Regions from separate parts of the Homo sapiens genome. Here regions 2 and 3 are each linked to region 1. The links are contacts of gene promoters, found by promoter capture Hi-C in human tissues and cell types (Jung and others, 2019). All regions are on one chromosome and are shown on one strand. The core of a region is centred on a gene start or on the middle of the fragment in contact, and the rest is flanking DNA. Distances in the headings are between cores, read along the strand shown. Region 1 holds the start of NUP85 (nucleoporin 85). Region 2 holds the start of NAT9 (N-acetyltransferase 9). Region 3 holds the start of FADS6 (fatty acid desaturase 6).

The links. Contacts are between HindIII fragments. The study calls those that stand out against the background at their distance.
Region 2: the fragment with the promoter of NAT9 here is called in contact with the fragment with the promoter of NUP85 in region 1 in 1 of the 25 tissues and cell types used here (lymphoblastoid cells).
Region 3: the fragment with the promoter of FADS6 here is called in contact with the fragment with the promoter of NUP85 in region 1 in 1 of the 25 tissues and cell types used here (hippocampus).

What each region holds. Positions count from the first base shown.
Region 1 is chr17:75,204,123-75,207,084 of GRCh38, reverse strand. It overlaps NUP85 (nucleoporin 85), which reads right to left and starts at 1,406. Exons shown (of 19, transcript NM_024844.5): 1 at 1,291-1,406. The coding sequence starts at 1,323. RefSeq lists enhancers at 1,395-1,574, 733-1,666, 1,667-2,601. The HindIII fragment of the contact is 15,269 bases long and covers 1-2,962 here.
Region 2 is chr17:74,774,845-74,777,806 of GRCh38, reverse strand. It overlaps NAT9 (N-acetyltransferase 9), which reads left to right and starts at 1,462. Exons shown (of 7, transcript NM_015654.5): 1 at 1,462-1,540; 2 at 2,100-2,185. The coding sequence starts at 2,109. It overlaps SLC38A12 (solute carrier family 38 member 12), which reads right to left and starts at 1,308. Exons shown (of 10, transcript NM_017728.4): 1 at 1,230-1,308; 2 at 432-543. The coding sequence starts at 476. RefSeq lists an enhancer at 1,661-1,780. The HindIII fragment of the contact is 11,963 bases long and covers 1-2,962 here.
Region 3 is chr17:74,892,053-74,895,014 of GRCh38, reverse strand. FADS6 (fatty acid desaturase 6) reads left to right here and starts at 1,382. Exons shown (of 6, transcript NM_178128.6): 1 at 1,382-1,663; 2 at 2,326-2,492. The coding sequence starts at 1,420. The HindIII fragment of the contact is 12,637 bases long and covers 1-2,962 here.

The DNA of each region.
Region 1 (2,962 bases), core at 157-2,656:
CTAGTCCTAAAATCAAGATCTGTTGATTCTGACAATGTCAACTACCAGCTTATCTTCACAAGTAAAAGACCAGAAATCGGCCGGGTGCGGTGGCTCACGCCTGTAATCCCAGCACTTTGGGAGGCCGAGGTGGGCGGATCACGAGGTCAGGAGATTGAGACCATCCTGGCCAACACGGTGAAACCCCGTCTCTACTAAAAATACAAAAAAGTACAAAAAATTAGCCGGGCGTGGTGGCGGGCACCTGTAGTCCCAGCTACTCAGGAGGCTGAGGCAGGAGAATGGTGTGAACCCGGGAGGCGGAGGTTACAGTGAGCCGAGACCGCGCCACTGCACTCCAGCCTGGGAGACAGAGCGAGACTCCGTCTAAAAAATAACAGTAATAATAACCATAATCCCTCTACCTACCCTGAGATGAATGCATACATAAAATTTTCCTCTGCTCCCTCTTTTCACAGGTAAAATGCAGATTTACTGAGGCTAATCACCGACTCACAAGAATGTAATCATTTGCCTCCTCACTGCCTAACCTCCCTTTTTTGCCCCTCCTGCTAGCTCCTTCCTCTTTAACTAGTGATGTTCCCAAAACCATCTTTGGAAAAAGCACAGGTCTCAGATCCTCCTGTGACCTGTGCTTTTTCCCGGTTGGATCCTCAACCTTAGCTAATTAAACCTTTATCGGTTGAGACCTGCCTCAGTCACTTCTGGTTAACAAGAGGGAAAACAAGAGCAATCCAACTAGCAGAAACGGTAGGTATCTCGTACATAAAGCGCGTGAATTTTTTTTATACACATCACAGATCATCCACAGTTGACATACTGTCTTCAAAGTTCAAATGGAATTGAATGCACAGCGATAAAACAGGAATAGTCTCCTGAGATAATACGTTGAATAAACCTTAGGCCACACAGGCAGAAGCTCAATGTGCCGCGATGCAGAGCTTAATACGGCTGGAATAAAAATATAAATTCCTCTGCTTGGGCTGAACCCACTCTAATGCCCAAGAGGAAAAGCAAGGGAAGTAAAAAGGCCAGGAACACAAAGGAAGGAAAGGGACGGAGTGGGACCTTCGAGGCCGGGGTTTGTGACTGGTGGCAGAAACCCCGCGACCACTGCGACCCTAGGGCGGGCACCTCGTTAACACTGCGACCTCCGGAAAAGTGGCAACTGAGTCGAGGGAAGGGGACGAGCGCCTCGCGACCACTAGGGAAGCAGACAAGCCTGAAGTAACTAAGCAGACGCAGTTCTCAACCCGCAAGGACGAGCAAGCCTGTTCGGGGTACCCTTACAGTGACTGTTGGCTCGCCATCGAGCTCCTCCATAGCGCCGAACCCCAGGCTCCTAGAAGTCGCTCGGACGCCAATGCTTCCCGCTCAGGCCTCCCGCTCAGAGCTGGCTGCGAGACAAGACTCCGCCTGGGCGTCTCCTGCAGCGCCTGCAAGCCCAAACCCTCAGTGCTGCGGCGCTGTCTCCTCTCAGCCACGGCCACCCCTCTGCGGTCCTCTGCACGCGTCCTTCCTTCCTGGCGTCGACAGCAAATCAGGGAAAACAGCGCCGAGGACTGACTGCACTCAGAGTACCGCGCTAACAGGATCAGGCGGCGCCGGGGACACCCTGGTGCCGAGCGGAGAAAAGGCCCCCGGAGACGGCGGGAGGGGCAGGAGGACCCCGGGGCTGGAGACGGTGCGAATGCGCGTGCGTAGGCTGGGGCGGCGGCACTTGGGTGGGAACTCGTGCGGGATTTAGGTCCCAGTAAGCGTACAACGTCTCCCAACTCTGGGAGTCCTCGCTACATCCCGGTCTCCACCTTAGTGTCGTCGCAGCCACTTGTCCAAACCCCGACAGTCAAACGGGCTTGTGCTGGAAAGCAATCGCCTCCACTTCCACACTAGAACACACACAAGAGGCACGGGAACAAAATCGATACCCCTGAAGGCCCGGCGCTGTGGCTCAAGCCTCTAATCCCAACACTTTGGCAGCCCAAGGTGGGTGGATCACTGGAGTTCAGGAGTTCAAGACCAGTCTGGCCAATATGATGAAACCTCGTCTCTACTAAAAATATAAAAAATTAGACGGGCGTGGTGGCGGACACCTGTAATTCCAGCTACTCGGAAGGCTGAGGCAAGAGAATTGTTCCAACCCGGGAGGTGGAGGTTGCATTGAGCCAAGATCGCACCACTGCACTCCAGCCTGGGAGACAGAGCGAGACTCCGTCTCAAAAAAAAAAAAAAAAATTAGCTGTGCTTGGTAGCGCGCGCCTGTAATCCCAGCACTCCGGGACGCCGAGGTGGTTGGATCACCTGAGGTCAGGAGTTCAAGACCAGCCTGGACAACATGGCGAAACCCCGTCTCTACTGAAAATACAAAAATTAGCCGGGAGTGGTGGCGGACACCTGTAATCCCAGCTACTCGTAAGGCTGAGGCAGGAGAATTGTTCCAACCCGGGAGGCGGAGGTTGCAGTGAGCCAAGATCGCGCCACTGCACTCCATCCTGGGCGACAGACGGAGACTCCGTCTCAAAAAAAAAAAAATTATTTTGCTGAGTCTCAAAAAAAAATTATTTTGCTCTTTTTCTCTTAATAAGTTTCCGTTATACCTCAAGTTGGAGTTATCGCCTGTGTAATTGAAAACTTTTCCAGAGTTAAATACAGTTTGAGAGTTAACCACTCTAGAGAGAGGAAGGGGAAAAGAGAGGGGAAGGAGCCACACTCTTTTAGAGAGAGGGGAGGAGAGGAAAGAGAAAAATAAGTTGTAAGATAATTGTTTCATTTTTCCAACCGTTTTCCATTAGGATTAACTGAAAAAGAAGGATACATAAACTACTTCATCAAAACCTTATTCTTAGAAATCTATAGAAAGGTTGAGGAAGGAAAAGGTCCATATATAGTATGCGTAATCAGTATATAGAACAAGGATAGGCCGGGCGCGGTGGCTCACGCCTGTAATCTCAGCGCTTTGGGA
Region 2 (2,962 bases), core at 213-2,712, 430 kb after region 1:
GAGTAGCTGGGATTACAGTGCCACCATGCCCGGCTAATTTTGTATTTTTAGTAGAGACAGGGTTTTACCATGTTGGCCAGGCTGGTCTTGAACTCCTGACCTCAGGTGATCTGCCCGCTTCAGCCTCCCAAAGTGCTGGGATTACAGGCGTGAGCCACCGTGCCCAGCCCGGGATTAACATTATAAACAGCATGGCGATTTTGTTTGGCTTGACCACTCTGACAAACACCTTAAAAAGAGAATAAATCTGACTTACATTCTGAGCCACCACAGCAGCACTGTAGTCGCTGCCCCATGGAACTCCCCCATCCTGCTTCCACTATGGTCTGCTCAAGCAGCAGCACTCACTAGTCCCATCTCCAGCAAGCAATGTGCTTTTCTAGAAGCCAGGAACACTTAAGTGAGCAAAAGGTTCTATAAGTCACACTCACGTAGGAAGAGTAGAGTTCCCCGGTCTCTGTAATTTCACCCGCCATTTCCAAAAGTGAGGAAGGGCTGGCAGCAGAGGTTCCTTAGGTGCAAGGACGGCGGCTGCCGCAGCTCCTTAAAACAAAAGAGCAGGCTTCACCTATCTGATGGACTGAGACAGGGGTGGGAGGAGGCTTGCAGACTTCCCCTGCCACCTCTGGTTCTTTTATCACAGACACTTAGGGCCTCAGTATCTGTCACAAGACTCACCCCCGAGGGAGGGGTCACCCTGGATGACAGAAATCTGGACGGTTTCTTCTAACATTTCCCTTGCTGTGCAGGGCACTGCTCTGTGCCCAGCACGGATGTTTTCAATGCTGCTCGGGGTGCAAGTGATTTAAGGGGCCTCTAAAACCACTAAGTCTCACCCACCACAAGAGCCCCCTTTCCACGCTCTGGGGTGGTTATCCTCGTTTAGTTCCAGGAACCAGGAGCTCACTACCACACATGGGAGCCCAAGGAACTGTCTGCCGCCTCTGCCTAGGGCAGGGAGCTGGGGGCTTTCCTACATTGCCCTTCCAACTCCACTCTTGGCACTAAGGCCTCCTTTTTTTAATGGGGCCTCCACTCCCTGGCCCCACCTACTCTCTTAGGGTTCCCCACCCTCAAAGCTCCCTCTTTTCTCAAGAACCCCACTCCCAGCCTCTCCCTCTCTCTCCCTCCTGGAGGAGTCCCGAGTCTAGTGCCGCCCCGCCCCGCCCCAACCTATCCCGACCCGTCTCGTCCTCTCCCGCCCGTCCCGACCCGACCCGACCCAACACCTGCAGCACAGCCAGCTCCCAAGCCGCCGTCTCCCGCCGGTCCGCTGCTGCCGGCGCCAGCTGTCCAGCACCAGCTTCCGCAGCGCGCATGCGCCGGCCCCACAGCCCACCTTTTTCGCGCGCGCTGATTGGGCGCCTCGCGGGGGCGGGACCGGGATTGGGGCCTGGCGGCTGCCGTCAGCATGGCGGAAGTGGGCGGGGCGCGTTCTCACGCGCATGCGGAAGGGGCGGTAGCCGGCCGGGCCTGGGAACGTGGCTGGTTGGAGGAGGTAGATCACCCTTTCTGCGGGGGACGATTTCGTCGGTGGTAGGTGGGTGTGAGCTTGGCAGTACCCGGGTCCGCGTGGTTGGAGGGTCGAAGAGAGTGGTCTAGAACGCCACTCAAAGGGGAGGGCCTAAGACTAAGCCCGCCTTGCCCTGAAGTGGTCGGGGGCGGGGAGGGAGTGGCTAGAGCCCCGTGGGGTGGTCGCCGGGGTAAGAGGTTGGAAGTAGGTTTAAGGCAGGGCTGAAAGTTGATTCTGGGTTGGAATCCCTGGACTGGGGCAAGTAATGGGAGCTCTGGGGATACTTTGGTACTTGGTACTTGGTGCTTGGGTTTGAGGAATCGAAGTTCTGGGGAGTGGACGGAAGGAACCGGCAGAAACGGAGCCCAGGCTTGGCCTCTTGGAGTGGGAGTCAAGGATTGTTTAATTATCCTTAACCAGCCTGGTTCTCTTTCTTGCAAGAATTTTGGAGTCTGTATTCTTTGAAGTGTCTAGACGGAACTAATGACGGAAGTCAACTTAGCCCCAGCAGGAAAGCTGGAGCGCCTACCCAAAGTTGGAGGAAATTCAGGGTCCTGAAGTCTTTGCTCTCCCCATCTGCATGCAGGCTGCTACCATGAGGTTGAATCAGAACACCTTGCTGCTGGGGAAGAAGGTGGTCCTTGTACCCTACACCTCGGAGCATGTGCCCAGGTATCTTTCCCGCTTGACATGGGGTGCGTATCAGCACCCAGAGCTGTGTAAGGTACAGCCCCAGTCTCAGGGCTATTTCCCCTAAGAAGAAACATTGGTTGTGAGAAATAATTATATATGAGGGGGGAAAAAAGGCTGGGTGCCGTGGCTCACGCCTGTAATTCCAGGACTTTGGGAGGCTGTGGCAGGAGGATTGCTTGAGCCCAGCAGTTCGAGACCAGCTTGGGTAACGTAGCGAGACCTTGTCTCTACAAAAAAATACAAAAATTAGCCAGGCATGGTGGTGCACAGCTGCAGTCCCAGCTACTAGGGAGGCTGAGGTGGGAGGATTGCCTGAGCCCAGGAGATGAAGACTGCTGTGAGCTGTGATTGTACCACTGTACTCCAGCCTGGGTGACAGAGCAAGAACCTGTCTCAAAAAAAAACAAAAAAAACAAAAAAACAAAAACAAACAAAAACAAAAAAACGGCCGGGTGCGGTGGCTCACGCCTGTAATCCCAGCACTTTGGGAGGCTGAGGCGGGTGGATCATGAGGTCAGTAGTTCAAGACCAGCCTGGCCAACATGATAAAACGCCATCTCTACTAAAAACACAAAAAATTAGCTGGGCTTGTTGCCCGGCACCTGTAATTCCAGCTACTTGGGAGGCTGAGGCAGGAGAATCACTTGAACCAGGGAGGTGGAGGTTGTGGTGAGCCGAGATCACACCACTGTACTCCAGCCTGGGCAACAGAGTGAGACTTTGTCTCAAAAATAAAATAAAATAAAATAAAGGCTG
Region 3 (2,962 bases), core at 133-2,632, 310 kb after region 1:
GAATTCATGATTAGCCAGGCTTAGTGGTCCCCGTGTGTGCCTGTAGTCCCAAGCTACTCAGGAGGCTGAGGGGGAGGATCACTTGAGCCTAGGAAATCGAGGCTGCAGTGAGCTGTGATTGTGCCACTGCACTCCAGCCTGAGTGATAGAGCGAGACCCTGTTTCTAAACAAAGAGAGAAAAAAAAGAATTCCTGAAGGAAAACACCAGGAAGGAGTCAAAAGGAATCAATGTCATTAGGATCCCTGACTGTCTCTCCCTTACCCCACCCACCCAACTTCTCTTTCCTAGGGGTCTCCTGCTAAAGATGCCACTGTCCTCACCATACCAGATCCCTTAAGTCATGAAACTGGGAGTAAGTAAAACAAAAAAGAAAAGAGAAAGGGTATTCAGAAGCAGGGAAGAGGAGTTTGTAGAGGACAGAGGCTTATCCCCTGAGGACCAAGGCCATCTCCAGCAGTGCGGGGTGGGGGCCTGGGCTGATGGGAAGGGGATGTGACAGGTGTGGCTCCCACATCTCAGAGGGCTTGGCTGAGGCCCTGGCCCTGGGTTCAGGCCTGGGCGCTCTTGAGGGAGTGGAATGGCAGCGGGACCCGGCTGGTCTGCCTGCCCACCCAGAATGATGACCTCCGGATGTGTATTCCCTGTAGCTACCCGTCTCACCCAAAACATTATTGGGCTGAAGAGCCAGCTCCCCTGGGTCACCTCTGCTGAAGCCATACTCAGAGGGGACCTCTCACTCCTTGACCCACGGGGAGGGGGAGTGGGGAGTCCTTGAACTTTCTGCCCTAGGAATTCCCAGATGTTTCTGTGCCAAGCATTGCCCTAGGTACTGAAGACAGAGCTTGGGCAAAACGAGGACGTCTCTACGGCACTGAGGGTCCGTCTGTTGGCAGAGACAGACGACAGCATGTGTCATGTGTGTCACGTACGAGGGGAGCTGCTCAGTGCCACTACGAATAGTCAGGGTCGAGGGAAGAGAATGCTCGGACAGATCTCAGGGACCGAGGGAACTCAGGGAGTTATTTGAGGTCGGAGGTCAGGGAAGGCCCTCGGGGCGGGGCGGGGGTGGGGGGTGTCTCCACTGGGGTCTCCGTGCCCCTGACGCCTCCGTCCCTACTACCTGGGCTGGGTCTCACCGCAGGGTCGCCTCCCCGCCTAGCCACTCTCAGCTCATCGGCCTGGCTCCTCCCTCCGCGGCGGTTCTGATGCCGCCTGCCAGGGTCGCGCGCCTGAGCCGGGCCTGGGTCGCCAGCGCCCGCAGCAGAGGAGCCAGGGTGTCTCGCACCTTGACCCCGGGGGCGGGTGTCCCCAGGCGGCGCGTGACTCCGCCCCGGCCCGCCCCGCCTCGCCTGCACCGCAGACACACGCCCCAGTCCTCCAGTCCTCCGTGCGCGTCGGGCCCGAGCCCACAGAGTCCATGGAACCCACGGAGCCGATGGAACCTACGGAGCCCATGGAACCTACGGAGCCCATGGAACCTACGGAGCCCATGGAACCTACGGAGCCCATGGAACCGGCGCGGAGCGCGCACCGTGGGGGCGAGGCGCTGCTGCGGGAGCTGGAGGTGCTGGTGCAGGACGTGGTGAGGACGAGCTCCTGGTGGGAGCGCCACGGCGTGGACTGCGCCATCCTCGCGCTCAGCCTCTTCGCCTTGCCGGCAGGTGAGGAACGCGGGGACCCGGCGTCCCGGCCGGGCTGCGGGTGGGGGCGGGGTGCGGCGGAGGTGGCGGCGCGGGGTCTGCAACAGCAGCCGTGGGAGTGCAGCCTGCGGAGTGGACTGGCGGCGGCAGGGAGGCGGAGGTGGTCGGGGCCCCGCACCCAAGGATGGAGGGTCACACCCCGAACCTGAGAGTCTGGACTGGGGTGTTCTGCCCTGTGTACCCTAGGAGGGGGCGCAGGAGGGTGGTGGAAGGGAAAGTTGAGAGGAGCGGGGGAGTGGCCGGGAGTGATGAGGTGCCCCCCCACCCCCGGGAAGGGAGACGGTGTTCTTTGGGGACCTAGGTGAGTGGGGAGGGGGTGGGAGTTTCCCCTGGACCCTTCCTGGTCTGGAACACCCATGGTACCTGAGGCCCCAACATTGCTTTGGCTGGGGGCCCAGGACCACGCACTGGAGAGTCAGGACCAGGCACGGGAGAGTCAGGACCGCTGGAGGGGCAGTCCTGGTTCCCCTCAGGCCACAGTGGGACCTGCCTCACTCCGGCCAGTGGCAGCCCCCAGAGCCTAGCCCACTTTAGCCTGGGCTCCCAGGGTAAGGGTTGAGGTATTTGGGCCCAGATCACCCAGAGCTAGAGAAAGACCCGTCTTCTTCCTCCTCTCCACGCAGGCTTCCTGTGCCTGCGCTGGGAGAATGCCCTGGTCTTTGCATCCGGCATCACCATCTTGGGTGTGTGCCACTACACACTCACTGTCAAGGGCAGCCACCTGGCCACTCATGGGGCCCTCACCGAGTCCAAACGCTGGAGCAAGATCTGGCTGCTTTTCTTTGTGGAGGTGAGCCTGGGAGAAGGAGGATGCAGGCAGCTGCTGGGACCGTGTGGCAGCCTCATTCTTCTGTTCGAGCATGCGGGTGTGTCCAGCTGTGCATGTGCCCACGGGGGCAGGCCGCTGCAGCTGATGGTATGCCGGTCCACTGGTGCAGTATGCACTACAGCGTGTCTGAGGACTTCTCCAAGCCCTTGAGCGGGTCTTTGCACCCCATGGGTAGAGAGTTGTAGGATGAGTATGCCGCTGTCTTGGCCCACAGTTACAACCAGTGGGGCCTCCAGATTTTGCAGTCAGGGTTTAAAATGTGACCCACAGACAGAAAGGGAGGGGGAGGAGGGGCCCAGTGTCCACAAGGGGCAGCGTCCTTACTCCGGATGATGCTCCTCTGATGCCTGGCCATGGCCTAGCCTTCCTGAGAAGCCCCCTGCTCCCCGGGGTCAGCTCCAGGAAGTACCCACCTCACCTGACCCTTGCCC